Regions from separate parts of the Homo sapiens genome. Here region 1 is linked to region 2. The links are contacts of gene promoters, found by promoter capture Hi-C in blood cells and fetal thymus (Javierre and others, 2016). All regions are on one chromosome and are shown on one strand. The core of a region is centred on a gene start or on the middle of the fragment in contact, and the rest is flanking DNA. Distances in the headings are between cores, read along the strand shown. Region 1 overlaps OR2A14 (olfactory receptor family 2 subfamily A member 14). Region 2 holds the start of TCAF1 (TRPM8 channel associated factor 1).

Region 1 (7,740 bases), core at 2,536-5,035, 230 kb before region 2:
CCTGGTGACAGAGCAAGACTCCATCCTAAAAAGAACTCTAACATATCCTGAGGTTTTGATATTAGTAATTTTTCCTTCTATGTTCTCTTCCAGGCAAAATTATTATCAGCTATCAGCTTAGGGTTAAGAGTTACATTTCTGGGTATTCCAGGCTAAGATGAGAGTGGCTCTCTCAAAATATAATTAAAACTAGGACTTTTTCAATATCAAGATATAAGATGCTTTTAATAAAATGGTTGCTAAATATAAAAGAAAACAATTAAAAATCTACGATCTTGTTAAATCCACTCTTAAAAATTAATCTGTACAAGATATCTCTGTGCTTGTTTTCACTGGACTGCTGTGCTCCAATTAGAATGTTGAGTTGCAAACTTTTATCCTAAGATCTCAGGCTCAAATTAGTGATGGAGTATGAGGAGCCTGCTCTTAATTCCTGTGTGATGGAGAAACCATGAATATTTACAGTCCACTGGCTATTGAGTCATGGCATATTTTAGAAAGTGTCAAAGGAGGAAAAGTCTCACTCTCAAGTAAGTACAATGTGATCACAGGAATTTGACTGCAAGACATGTCTAATCACATGCTCCCTGAGGCCCCACCCAGTGAGGGTCTCTAAAGTGGGATCAGCTGGAACTATGCTAGTTTTAAGATCTAGAACAAGGGTTCACAAACTACTGTCCCTGGGCACCATTCCAGCAGCCACCTGTTTTTACAAATAAAGTTTTATTGGAACACGGGCACACCCATTTGTTTACACATTGTCTATGGCTGCTTTTGTCAGAGTTGAGTTGTTTTGACGCAGAAGATGGCCCTCAAAGCCTTAAGCATTAACCTGTGTATCTTCACAGGAAGTGTCACTAATTATTGATCTTGAGGATGTGTACTATGCTCCTGTTAACTCAATGTGACTTGGCTACTATTGGCACAAACTCTGCTAGTATCGACCATTTCCAATATTAGAAATAGATTTCCAATAACCTCAATGATAAATAAGCCATTAAAAATTTCAGACATCTTAGTGGGTATATAATAGTATCTCATGGTGGTTTTAATTTACAATTCCTTGCTTACTAATGGTGGAAAGCAGCATTTGTATGTTTATCAGCCCCTTGTATTTTCTGTAAGAGTATATGTTCACATGTTTTGCTAATTTTATAAAATTTGGTTGTTTATATTTTTTATTGCTGATTTAAAGGAGTTCTTTCTATGTACTGTATGAACAATAGTTCCATTTCTGGGTACATGTAGTTTCCATACGATCACTTGGTTTGTGGCTTGCATTTCTTCTTTCTTAATGGTGACTTTGATGAGCACAATGATTAATGTGAAGAGGTCCTATATTTATCGAACTTAAAAATTTTATATCTAGGGACTTTTGTGTCTTCTTTATGAATTTATGCCTATCCAGTATTATAAATGCATTTACCTATCTTTTCTAAAAGATTTGTGTCTTCAGTTTATATGTATAGGTCTATAGTATTCCAGTTTAAGGTAGCATTTATTCTAGCAGAAGACAAAAAAAAAAAGCCAACTTCTATATTTTGCAGGGAGCAAGGCTCCCTCCCCATGGTTCCCTTTGAGATGTCTCACGTCAGCCTCTCCTTCCTCAGTGCCCTCCTCAGGGCGCCCTTGACCTCTGCATTCCTTAGGCTATATATCAGGGGGTTCAGCATTGGATTGAAAAGGCTGTAAAACAGGGAAAGAACTTTCTGCTGCTCCTCAGGATGGCGGGACTTGGGGGCCATGTACGTGACAATGGCGCTGCCAAAGAAGAGTCCCACCACGCAAAGGTGGGAGGAGCAGGTGGAGAAGGCCTTTCTGCGGCCCTCCCCAGACTGGATCCTCAAGATGGCGGCCAGGATGCGCAAGTAGGAGACCAGCACCAGGCAGAGTGGCCCCACCAGGATGAACACGCAGGCTGCAAAGATGACCACCTGGTTGAGCCAGGTGTCAGCACAGGCCAACTTGAGGACAGACAGGATTTCACAGAAGAAGTGGTTGATTTCATGAGGCCCGCAGAAGGGCAGGCTCAGGATGAGAACTAAAGGGACCAGAGCCAGGAGGAAGCTGAACACCCAGGAAGCCACAGCCAGGACAGTGCACACTCTCCAGCTCATGAGGCTATTGTAACGTAAGGGGTGGCAGATGTCCGCATAGCGATCATAGGACATCACCACCAAAATCAGACACTCTACGTGAGCAAAAGCCAAATACAAGAATGTCTGCATTATGCATGGAAAAAAGGAGATGGTGCTTTCCTGGTTCATAAGATTCGTCAGCATCTTGGGGACATAGTTGGAAGCATAGGATATGTCAACAATGGCCAGGTGTGAGAGGAAGAAGTACATGGGTGTGTGAAGCTTACAGTCCAGGCAGATAATCCCAAAGATGACCCCATTCCCCAGCAGGGTGAGTGTATAGAAGGCAGAGAAAAGTCCACAGAGGAGAATCTCCAGTGCTGGACCAACCTGGAATCGCGGCAAGGTGATGTCTGTGATCCATGTCTTGTTGCCTTCCATGCTCTTGTGGACATCTAGGACAGGAAGGTCAGAGCTGTGGGCCAGTCAAAGATGCACAGAGGGAGCACTTAGAAATTATAACTTTGAATGAATTTTCTAGAATTTATTCTCAGATATGTTGCCAAAACTAACCAAGTGTGCTCATAAAAATGAGAAAAAATCGCATTGTATCAATGGAATAATAAGAATACATACATGTATATGTGTATATATATTTGTGTGTGTATGTGTACATGTATATAACATTTAATAAAATATAACAAAACAGGATCTATTATAATATACCCTACATAAGGGGATACACACGCACATGTGTTATTTTGAAGAACTCAAGTATCCTTGCTTCCCTTTCAGTGTGAAATCTTGATTTTTACGTAGTTTGAGAAGAGAGGACCTTGACAAATGTTGCATTATGAGGTGGTTTCACTTGCTCATCCTGCTTCCTTCTCAGTCTGAGATGTGCAGGGACGGGGACCCTCTGTTTGCCATGGGCTTGCTCACTGTCCCTCACCTCCTCACAGGCTTTTCTACCCACTTATTTCAGATTTGAAATCACTTTTAAATAGCTTTCAATTTTGTAGTTTCTTTAAAGCTTTCTGAGATAAGACGCTCCTTTTCAGAAGCTGGCCAGTACTCCCTAGCAGCAACTTTAGGTGCCTCTTTTCCATATCTGGTGTTTGTAGTTTTATTTTGAGAGTTTTCCTTACTTCTTCATCAGCATCTGTTATTGTAAATTAGGCATGAGTGAAATAATTCTTGGCTACATACAATGAATACATGTATATATCTTTAAAATAACTAAGCATGGTGACATTTCTGAGGTCTTTTAAATAAGAAATTCAAAAGAAAAACCAATTTACATTAAGTGGTTACATTTAAAGATGATCGCTGTATCGTAATTGTATTTTATTGGACTCTTTTCTCGATTATAACTTAATATGTTGACATCTCTCAGAGCTTATCTTACTTTCCAGTGTGACAGAGTCTTTTGTCATCAATATATTCCCAGCTATGGCAACTGGGGTTGCTGTCGGTTCCCCTAACTGTATTCTTCTCCATCACCTGTGATCATGCCAGCAGCCCTGTTGCTGTTCAGATGGAATCTGAGCATGTGATGGGGATGGGATCAGGTGCAGCCCCAGCTGGTGAGCTCTTTCTAAGGAGCTCTTCCTGGAGGGTCTGGGTCTATCCAGCCAGCAGGGGGCGACCAAGGGCCATGAACAGGACGGATGGCCTCATCAGGTGGAGAAACCATGTGACCTGGTGCTGTTCTGTTAACACTTCACATTTATTCCAGAAACAGCCTGAGGACTATCTTTATTTTCAAATCAGGCTAAAGGTTCAAATCCAACAGGATACTTTTAAAAAAACAATTTTGATGTCTTTTATTTTAGTAAATACGTAGATCCTCAAATTTATATATTAAAATAGGGTATTGTACAGAGTATTTAAACATTACAATTTTTCACTTAATATAATACTTTTCCTGTATCGAAATTATATTTTATGGACATTATTTTAAAGGGGCACAATATTCTGTCACAATTTACTGAATTTCTTACTGTTTGAATTTTTGTTTATTTCTTATTTTTATTGGCATTGAGATACATTTCTCTTAAACTTAAGATTTGCCTATATTCATAATTATTTATTAGAACATATTCTAAAAGTGAAATTGCAGATGCTAAATATACAGACATTTCTAAGGTTTTTATCCCTATTTTAACTTCCATCTAGAAAATCTGACCAATTGCAATTCCCTCCCACAGTGTGTAAGAATCATGTCTCTTTGCCACATAGTCAGTACTAGGCATTACCAATTACAATCTCTGTTACTTTCATAAGCAAACAATGTTCTGTAACTTATATTTGTATTTTGTATATCCCTTAACGAATGATCCTTGAGTGCATGATCTGTTTCAGCCACTGTTCTAAGCTTTAGAGGCCCAGCTGTGGATGATGTAAACACATTCTGAAAGGGAGGCAGATTATAAAGAAGTAATATTAAGGTGATGTGCTTCTCTTCCACACCTCACATTTCTATTTAGGGAAGGAAACCTCTATGCCCCTGGATAAAATTGTTTTAGAGTATACCTGCCTCTCTCTTTCCCCTAATTTATATGATTTGTGAAACAGGAAAGAGAAACTGAGGGTGACCTTTCTCTGTTCTCTGTTTCACCTGCATGCATTTCTATCTGCTTGGGATTAAGGTATCAGGAGCATGTTCAGTCCCATTTGGAGGTGGGGAAGGGGTGTCAGCTAATGGTTGTGATTTTAATTTGGAGAGAAACTTTGTTGAAAATATAAACCATGCTTTTCAACAGACTTTATTAATAAAATACCTTTTTGAATTATATCCGATTCTTTCATGTATTATTCAACTCATTTTTTCCAGACTTGGAACAGAGAGAGGGCATGATTCATTACCACTGTAAAAGACCAGGAGTAAACAAGTAAAGATAATTGCTGGCCATGAAAAGAACAATGAAGGAAATAATCTAGGTAAAATAATAGAAAGCTACTTGATTTGAGGGGGGTCTCCTTTAGATGGGATGGTTGGAAAAGGTCTCTCTTAAGAGGAGACAGGTGAGTGGAACCTAAACCATGAAGGCCACAACCCTGCCCAGAGCCAAAAGAGGATCATTCTCTACACAGAGAACAGTAATGGAACAGTAAACGCAAAGTCTCTGAACAAGATGCACTTGGTGAGTTCTGGGAAGAGAAAGAAAGAAACACAATGTACCTGAACCATAGTGAGCAGGAGATTGTACTTATTCTTTGTAACCTTGTTTATATTTTTAACAATCTGAAATTGACATAAAAAATTCATCAGTTTAGCTGATATACTTTTGACTTTATAATAATTGATTTACTTTTAGATTCATGAAAGCAGAATACAGTTAAAAGATATGTATGTACAGAACTTCCAATGAGCACATATTTGAAATAGGAAACTGTTTAATTTTCTGCACAATATAATTTTAATGCCAGAATGGTAGTTGTCAATTTTTGGACACAGCAAATGTTGTGTTAATGTCCCAATGAATCAAGCTGAAAAGGAGAAGCCTTTTATCCCTGAGACCTCCAAGCACATGGATATTTTGCATATTTTTAGTCCCTCCTGGCTCCCATCTGTGGTGTACACATCTGTGCTCCTACTGTTCCAAGGCCCAGTGACCTAGGTAGCAGGCATTTGGATGCTTTAGGAGTAAAAAAAAAATCCAGTCATTACCAAATAAATACAATTGTTTGGTTAATCTAAATTCATAATTAAGCAAATCTGGGTTTATAGTTTTATTTGTAATTTTTGTAAAGTAAGGAATTTCGGGGAAAAAAACCCCAGCAGCCTAGAATAAACTATTTCTAAAGAGCAGGAATAAAGAAAGAAACAAATAGAATTCTTAGTGAAAGTGAAATTTAATCAGACGTGAACTACATCCAAACTGTATAAAACTCTGGTTATCAACTGTGCTTTTAACAGTTGTGTACAAGAGGCCACAAGGAGAAAAGTCTATAATGGTGGCTACCTACACACAAAAATTGTCCATCTGTTCAATTGTGAAGTTAAGTAAACAAATATACAGTATAAGAGGAAAATAGTTTTTTTCCTTTTATTTATTGGCATCCTTTTGTATTTTGGATTTCACAGTTCAAGTAGTCAGACTTTTCTTTTAGAAAAGCCTGTGGAAGTTCAATAAAGAATCAGATATCTGAAAGGAAGATTTATTTAGGCATCCACTCCAGTTACACATTACAGAACAATCTTCAGTGGATGGAGTAAGGGAAAAAACTGCATGGATACATTTTTCTGTTCTTAAAGAGCAAAGCAAATTTAGCAGTGACAGAAAAAAATATGGTCTCTGAATAAGAATGAAAGCAACAGGAGTAACAGTCTTGGCCAGAACACTATTCCAGTCTTGATTCTGAGCAATGAACATGACGCATTTGAGTCACGTATTCTAAGGCTCATTATTGTCAAATGTAAAATGTTGACCACAGATACCAAAAGGACTGATGTGAAGAAGAAATACCATCGCACTGGTACATTATAGGAATTTAATAAATGTCAGCTGTTACTAATGATATTAAAGAGATCGTAAAATTGAGGGAAGTATTAAAGCATAGGAATTGGAAATCCAGTGCAATCATCATGGTGTTGCAAACACTTTCACGTTTATCTTGCTTTTCTTTTTGGCTGTTTTTGAGTTTAAATATAAGACACACATTTTGCTTTGATTTCCTAATATAAATGTTCCTATATTTTGATTTTTAAAATTAAAAAGCAATTTAAAGAAATGGAAGACTCCTTTGAAGTAACCACACTCCCTTACTGAAGAAAAAAAAATACAGGCTGTAATAGTAAGAGGTCAATCCCACCATGCTAAATATCCCAATGATAGAGAGAGGATTAATTTTTTGGAAAGAAAAGGGGGGCGTATTTAGGGTGTTTAGCACTGACACAAAAGAAAAGTTTCTATTGAAAATTGTCTTAGAATGGGAGCCCTGGGGCCTCCAGCAGTGGGGTTGTAAGGCAGCACTGATTTGTCAAATCTTTGCAATTACTCAGAAATAACTTGCCATCTCCAATAATATACTTTGACACTGAGCTTAGTCCTAGGGAGCAGCCTAGTTTTTTTTTTTTTTTTTTTTGAGACGGAGTTTCGCTCTTGTTGCCCAGGCTGGAGTGCAATGGTGAGATCTCGGCTCACCGCAACCTCCGCCTCCCAGGTTCAAGCAATTCTCCTGCCTCAGCTCCCCAAGTAGCTGGGATTACAGGCATGCACCACCATGCCTGGCTAATTTTGTATTTTTATTAGAGATGGGGTTTCTCCGTGTTGGTCAGGCTGGTTTCAAACTCCTGACCTCAGGTGATCTGCCTGCCTTGGCCTCCCAAAGTGTTGGGATTACAGGCGTGAGCCACTGCACCCGGCCGCAGCCTAGTGTTAAAAACAAATGAACAAGCATGGATTCCTGAGCCCTGCAGCCTGGGTTCAGATCCTGGCTTTGCTGCATACTAGCTTTATGACTTCTCTGTGCCTCTTCATGCCTCAGTTTCCCAATCTACAAAATGGGGTAATAAATTCTGTCTCATAACATAGTTGTGAGGATTAAATGCATTAACTCACATAAGAACTTAGGTTTTTTAGATATATAATTAGGGATATGAGAACCATCGTTAAGGAGAATGTCTGGATCCAGTCATCATAAGGAGACATGTTCT
Region 2 (7,534 bases), core at 2,429-4,928:
AAGCCAGAAGGAAGGGAATCAGATGGATTCTGTCTCTGTCTCTGTCTCTCTCTCTCTCTTGCCAATGACCTCACTCTAATATAAATAAGACCTTCTTCCTGCACTGTGGGTTCCTTCACTCCCACTGCTGTGTCTCTCCTCCCTACAGCACCTTTCTCAAAAGCAAAACCCCTCCACTTCCCTTCTGAGCCTGTTTGACCTGTTTTCCCTTTCTGCCCCAATCTCACAGGTCTCCCTCAATTCTAAACCCTGCTTCCCTTTTACTGCTCATTTCCCTTGGGTCTTTCTGTCCATCTTCTCTCTTACATATTGTTCACCTTCATCCCCGAGATAATTTAATTCCTTACAGGTAGAGAGCATCGTGGGCAGGAACTCTTACCAACAGACCACTTGCCTTGTTGTCTAGTACTGCACTTACTAGCCACCAAAAAGACTGCTGCTCTTCAGAGCTATAAAACATGCGATGACGTGTAAGAAAGGTCATCTTAAACTCCTAGGGGCTGTCAGCACTCTGCTTGCAGTCTGGCAGGGCTCCCCTCTCTCCTCCTTTCCTCCCAGGATCACAGCCAGTCCACAAAGAGCAAGCCTGAGAAGGAGAGGAAAGGGGTGGGGGAGTGGTGGGTGAGGGGGTTGGAGGAGCTGAGGGGTGGCCAGTAGCGGGAGGAGGCAAGTGAAATGGAAACTCCTGGCCTTGGCTGGCCCAGAACTCGCACTGGCCCAGGTTCAGGAGTCTTGGTGTGCTTGCTGGTGAAGGGGTTTTCTCTGCTGCACTGGCTCCGTGTCCTTCCATACCCTAAAACATATACACACACAAACACACACACACACACACACACACACACACACACACACACACACACACAGAAACATGAGGCGCCGAGAGGACTAGCCAGTGATCTCAGCCTCAAGGACTTTGTACTGCAAGAGCGCTGGCATCTGAATTCCAAGGTCATGCTCCACCTCTACCTGCTGCAAACCCCTTCTGCTGCTTGCATTTCAGTGTTCCTTTTTGTATTAATATAAAGGAGGAGAGTGGATGAGATGTTGTAGCTCTGAAATTCTATGACCAATTGCACAGCAAAAACAACAGCAACTAAAAATGGTGGGTTTTGCTTGTGTGCCTGGAGAGGGAGTGGGGGTGGGCAAGCTTATGTCCTGTTGACTGTCAGCTTCTGAGGGGAGAAGGGATCTGGCAAGAGAGAAGTGCAGCTGTCTTGGCAGAGAGAATGAGAAATGAGAGAATGAGAAAGAGAGGTAACTGCAAGCAATCCTGGTCTTTCAGACACACTCAGTCTACAATCCCCAAACACCCACCTGCCCCCACAGTTTCCCCCCAGACACCCCATTTAACCGCACAAACACATCCAGACGCTGGTTTTTCCTTTCACCATAGTAGTCATAAACTATGCCTCTGTGCTAGTAGCTGGGTGCATTCACTTCTAGAAATCTCTTAGAAGTAAAGTCCCATCCATGTCTGCCCTCCAATCTCAGGCTAGGCCTATGTAGTTTTGAGGGGAGACTAGATTTGCAGGGAAATGAGGAGAGAACACACAACTTGGAGATTTGAAGAGCAAAGGAGACAAGGGCCAAGGAAATCATGGAAGAAGTCTGGAAGGATCTGTCCATTCTCTGGTAATGGTGAACATTCACATAGGGTTTTCCATGTGCCAGACACTGCTTTAAGAGCTTTATCTGTATTAAGTCATTTAATCTTCATAAAAATTCCATGAAGTAGAGACAATTATTATCCCCAATGTTACAGATGAAAACACTAAGATAGAAGTTAACAAGCCCTCTGTGATAGGCAGAAAAATAGCTCCCTAAAGATGTTGATATGGTTTGGCTATGTGCCCCCACCCAAATCTCATCTTGCAGCTCCCATAATTCCCACGTGTTATGGGAGGGATCTGGTGGGAGATGATTGAATCATGGGGGTGGGTCTTTCCCCAACCGTTCTCATGATAGTGGAGAGGTCGCAGGAGATCCGATGGTTTTAAAAACGGCAGTTTCCCTGAACAAGCTGTCTCTTTGCCTGCCGCCATCCACATAAGATGTGACTTGCTTCTCCTTGCCTTCTGCCATGATTGTGAGGCCTCCCCAACCACGTGAAACTGTGAGTCCAATTAAACCTCTTTCTTTTGTAAATTGCCCAGTCTGGGGAATGTCTTTATCTGCAGTGTGAAAATGGATTAATACAGATGTCCAGATCCTAATTCCCAGAATTTGTGATACGCAATGCTACATGGCAAGGGAGAATTAAGGTTGCAGACAGAATGAAGGCTGCTAATTAGCTGACCTTGAGATGGGAAATTATCTAGATTATCTGGATAGGCACAATGTAATCACAAGGTCCTTCTAAGTGAAAGAAGGAAGCAGGAGACTCAAAGAAGGAGATGTGACACAGAAGCAGAGGCTGGAGCCATGAGATTGCTGACTTTGAAGATGAAGGAAAGGGCTGCAAGCCAGGGAATGCGGGAGCCTCTGGAAGCTGGAAAAAGCAAGGAAAATAGATTTGTCCCTAGATCCTGCAAAGAGAAACACATCCCTGCCTACACCTGGATGATAGCCCAGTGAGACCTGTGCTGGACTTCCAGGACCTACAGTCCTGGAAGATAGTAGTAAATCTGTGTTGTTTTAAGCCACTAAATGTGTGAAAATTTATCACAGCAGCCTTAGCAATGAATACACTGCCCAACTTGTAAGCAGAGGATGTGGTGGCTTCAAAGTCCAGGCTTTTTCCCTGCTACTCCTTTCTTTCTTTCCTCCCTCATGCCCAATATCTGTCATCTGTTGATTGGTTAGTAACATTCTCAACGCCTTACTGTTTTATTAAACTTATAAAAACAATGTATTGGTTTAAAAAAAAACAATTCAGTGGTTGTGAAGGTAAGAATCAATAGACAATTTCTCCACCGTTAGCCCCGCCTCTTATAGAAGCACATGCAGCATGTCTTCTTCATACACGAATGTAATGCTAAAGCTGATGCAGTGGCTCAGGCCTGTGATCCCAGCACTTTGGGAGGCCGAGGCGGGAGGATCACTTGAGCCCTGGCGTTCGAGACCAGCCTGGGCAACAAAGTAAAACCCTGTCTCTAACAAAAAATCAAAAAGTTAGCTGGGCGTGGTGGCGGCGCACTTGTGGTCCCAGCCTCTGAGGTGGAAGGATCGCTTGAGCCTGGGAGGTTGAAGCTGCAGTGAGCTGTGATGGCACCACTGCACTCCAGCCTGGGTGGCAGAAGCAGACCCTCCCCCTGGAGGGGAGGGGAGGGGAGGGGAGGGGAGGGGAGGGGAGGGGAGGGGGAAAGAGAGATCCTACTCTCCATTTTAATACAACTTGCTTTTTTAATTAAAAACTATAGCTAGAACCGATAGATTTCACTCGTCCTTAAAAATAGTCCTGTATTATTTTATATAAACATCTCTCGCTATTTATCAAGGCCGTCACTTGTTCAGAAGTATTCTCACTTTTGTTTTGTTTTGTTTTGTTCTTAACAATTTGCTCCCTATATTCCTGGGCTGGCGCCTAGGCCTGCATCCGGGATTTGGCGCCACATCTGCGGGCAGGGCCTCTGAGGTCTAGGGGAGGGACGGCGCCGGCCAAGTCCCGCCCCCGTCCGCGTCGACCAATCAGCTCCCTGGAAGGCCCCTCCTCACCACCCCCCACCCCCGCAGTCTCCGCCTAAGACTTTCCAAGTCCTGTAGTTTCGAGCCCGCTGCCCTTTGCCTCCTGGGCGGAGAAGCTGCTTCCTCCTGGGAACAACCGCCTCCCGCTCCTAGCAGGTTGCTACTGCCCCGAACCCGCGCTGCAGGGAACAGCGGGGCAAACAGTGAGTGGGGTTCAGCGTAGACTCTGGACCAGGAGAGGCCCGCGGTGACCGAGGCCTGGGCCCCGGGTTAGTGTCCGGGGCGGGGAGCGGTGGGCGGGGTGCGACGTTTAGCGTCTGGGGAGGGCCGGGCGTGGATTGCGGCCTCTGCGCGCGCCCCCAGGTGATAGAGCCGTTCCACCGAGGATCCCTTCCTTCGTCTCTACCCCGTTGATGATTTTTCTCTGCAGCTCGGTGCCTATTTCATTCTCGCCGCATTGTTATGCCCTCTGCTGGGCAGGAGGCGATGACCCCCCCTATTTTCGTAGGATTTGTTTTTTGCTCCGCAAGGAGCCATTAAGATCTGAGCTAGCAGGAACCCTCGAGGCGATTTGATCTCGCCAGCTGGGGGCTTGCATTCTTCTAGGCTAGCTTGTCTCCGTTAAGCCCAGGTGGAAGTTCTCATCCACCCCAGTGCTCTAGGCGCCCACGGGCGCAGTGTGGGTTTGTGGTGGGGGAAGGGACCTGGGGAGGGGTGGCGGTGAGAGCGGCGCGGGGATTCAGGCTGAATGTTAGTCTGGAATGCATTTGGCCTGAAGCAGCAAGTGCTGGGTGATACAGTTCCCTGGTAAACAGCCGAGAGCTGGCCGCTAGTTTGGCCCAACCTGCAACGGAAGAAGGCCTTAAGTACAGGAGAAAAAGATCTTTGCCAATTGGATAATCATGGAAATTTAGAAGAAGTACAGCTCGAACTAGACGTAAAGGACAGAATGTGTCTGTCTAGCTGACCAGCCAACCATCGGTCCATCACTTTCATCCTCCAAACTAGTGATTTGTTGATGAATTGGTTTCAATACTTTGTTTTAAAATGTTGAATAAAAAGTAAATGAAATATCTCAGAATGGTCTAAAAAATAATGAAACGAATGCCTGACCATCTCCTTGGGTCAAGAAATAGGGCGTCACAGTACCTTAGAAGCCCATGAGTCCCAACTGATGCCCATGGTCCATTCTCCTCCATTCTCTGAGATGTGACATCTTTCGTGATTTTTGTCTTAATTTAATGAATCCCTTGCTTTTCTTTTTAGTTTTACCATATTTGTGTGTGTATTCCTAAAACATATGTATTGGCTTTCTCATTATAATGACATTATATTAATGACATTATCCTGTACGTATTCTTAAGTTTTATAGATTCATCTTTCATGCTTCCTTCCATTTTCGTTTTCGTCATTTAAGGTGTAAATGTACATAATTTATCCATTCTACTGCTGATGGACATTGGATTGTTTCTACTTTTGGAGGTGTATGATTTATCTATAAGCTATGTAACAAATTACCCCAACACCTAGCAGCTTCAAACCAAAGCGAACAAACAAAACAAGTCCTGTTACCTCCTATCTTACAGTTTCTGTGATCAGGAATCCAGGAGGGGCTTAGCTGGGAGTCTCTGACTCAGGGTCTCTCACAAGCTGTATCAACAATCAAGGTATTGACTGGGCCTCAGTCATCTCAAGGCTAGGCGTAGGGTCGAGGACCTCTCCCAGGCTTACTCACATGACTGCTGGCAGGCCGATTGGCCTCACTGACCCTGGCTGTACACATCAGTTCTTTGCCACATGGGCCTCTGTATAAAGAATGGTTGCAACATGGCAGCTTACTCCCCCCAGAGAGAAGGCTCCCACAGAGAAAAAGAGAAAGACAGAAGTCAGATTCTTTCTGTAACCTCAGAAGCGACATCCCATTATTTTTGCCATTTTATATTCATTAGAAGTGAGTCCCTAGGCCCAACTCACACTGAAGGGAAGGGGGTGACACAAGGACATGAACACCTGGAGGCAGGGATTATCGGGGCCACTTTAAAGCCTGCCCATGTCCTCTAATATTCAAGTACACTTGTGTGGGAGCTTCCCTAGAGTATATAGCTGGGAGTAGAATTGCGGAGTTATAAGATTTATGTGTATTCAATTTTATTGGGTCATTTCTAAACTTTCCAAAGTGTTAAACCAGTTTGCACTCCCTCCAGCAGTGGATGAGCATTCTTGTTGCTCTACATGCTTGCCACAGCTTAGTCTTGTAAAATTACATTTTTTGTCAGTCTGGCAGGTATGAAATAGCATTTAACTGTGATTTTAACTAGCATTTTCCATAACTAATGAGATTGACTTTTTATATGTTGATCAGTGCTTTCTCTTTGTGAAATTCTGATTCCTGTCTCTTTCATTTTTGTATTGGATTGTTTGTTTACCTTTTTTATTGACTCATTGGAATGCTTTCTTTATATAATCTGGGTACGAAGCAGTAATTGTTAGCTATATATGCCACAGACATCTTTCCAATTTGCTTTTGAGGTTTTCTTTCTCTCTATGTCTTTATATCTGTTTCTTTCTCTGTTTCTATCAATGAATCTAAGTTTTGAATTTAATTTCAAGTTAGTAGTACTTTCTTTTATAGCTTTTCTTGTTTGATAATTGTTTTCTCAAGATCATAGATTAATTTTAGTGTATCGTTTTCTAAAAGTGTTATAGTTTTGCCTTTGGCAATTAGTCTTAATCCACATGGAAACTGATTTTTATGTTGTTTATTCCATATGGATAATCTGTTGCCCCAGCACCAGTGATTTGCATGAATCAGGATTTCCATATAAGCATGAATTCGTTTTAAGCCCCCATTCTTATTTTCTATTTGTCTAACTCTGCCTCAATACTAAATAATTTTTAACCACTATAGTTTTATTAAAAGCCTTGAAATTTGGTAGGAAAAGTCCTATCACCTGTTTCTTCTTCTTTAAGAGTGTTTTAGCTTTACTTGGACCTTTGACCTTCCATATAAATATTTAAATAAACTTATCAAGTTCTCCAAAACAAGAAACAAACAAGCAAATAAACCTGTTGGAATTCTGATTGATAATGGATCAACTCTGTGTCTTAGTCTGTTTTGTGCTACCATAGCAGAATACCTGAGACTGAGTAATGTATAAGGAACAAAAATTTATCAGCTCACAGTTCTGGAGGCTGGGAAGTCCAAGATTGAGTGGCTGGCATCTGGCAAGAAAGAGCCTTCTTACTGTGTCATTCCATGGCATAAAGGCAGAGAAAGGCTGAAAGAGAGTGTAAAAGGAGGGTGAATGCCGCCTTTTATAATGAACTCACTCCTACAGTGATGGCATTAATTCATTCACTCTGCTGTCATGACCTGATGGCCTCTCATTAAGCCCACCTCTTAACACCATTGCATTGGGGATTAAGTTTCCAACACCTGCTTTTTGAGGGACACATTCAAACCATTGCACTCTATAAATTATTTTGGGCAGAAATTATTTCTAAGACATTGGCCCTTTTCCTCAATGAACATGGTATATGACACTATTTAAGTCATCTTCAATGTTTTGTACTATTTTTTATTGTTTTCTTTTGGCTCAGTTTTTGTTAAATTTCTAGGCACGTCATATTTTTACTGCTATTGTAAGCATTTTCTTTTGTAAAAGTTATATTTTGTAGTTTATTGTTGCTGGCATACAGAAATTCAGTTGCCTTTTATATATTAATTATATATCAATCAAACTTGAGAAAATTAATAATTCTAAATTTACCTGTAGCTTCTTTCAGATTTGCTACATAGGCAATCATATCATCCGAAAATAATGATAATTTTGTTTATTCGTTTCTAATTCTCATACCTTCAATTTATTTTTTCTGTCTTATGACAATGACTAGGAGCTCCAGTACACTG

What was found. The method cuts DNA at HindIII sites, captures the fragments that hold promoters and counts their contacts. A CHiCAGO score of 5 or more calls a contact.
Region 1: a fragment that was not itself captured here is called in contact with the fragment with the promoter of TCAF1 in region 2 in 2 of 17 cell types (naive CD4 T cells and total CD4 T cells); the score reaches 7.0 in naive CD4 T cells.

What each region holds. Positions count from the first base shown.
Region 1 is chr7:144,123,892-144,131,631 of GRCh38, reverse strand. It overlaps OR2A14 (olfactory receptor family 2 subfamily A member 14), which reads right to left. Exons shown (of 2, transcript NM_001001659.3): 2 at 444-2,553. The coding sequence starts at 2,519. The coding sequence ends at 1,587. Among named protein-coding and RNA genes, the nearest start is that of OR2A14, 4.6 kb to the right of the region's middle. The HindIII fragment of the contact is 1,344 bases long and covers 3,114-4,457 here.
Region 2 is chr7:143,898,320-143,905,853 of GRCh38, reverse strand. TCAF1 (TRPM8 channel associated factor 1) reads left to right here and starts at 3,678. Exons shown (of 9, transcript NM_014719.3): 1 at 3,678-3,893. It overlaps LOC105375549 (a long non-coding RNA gene), which reads right to left. Exons shown (of 3, transcript XR_007060574.1): 3 at 3,901-7,534. RefSeq lists enhancers at 1-105, 4,448-4,497, 4,173-4,710 and a silencer at 3,518-3,657. The HindIII fragment of the contact is 7,751 bases long and covers 1,150-7,534 here.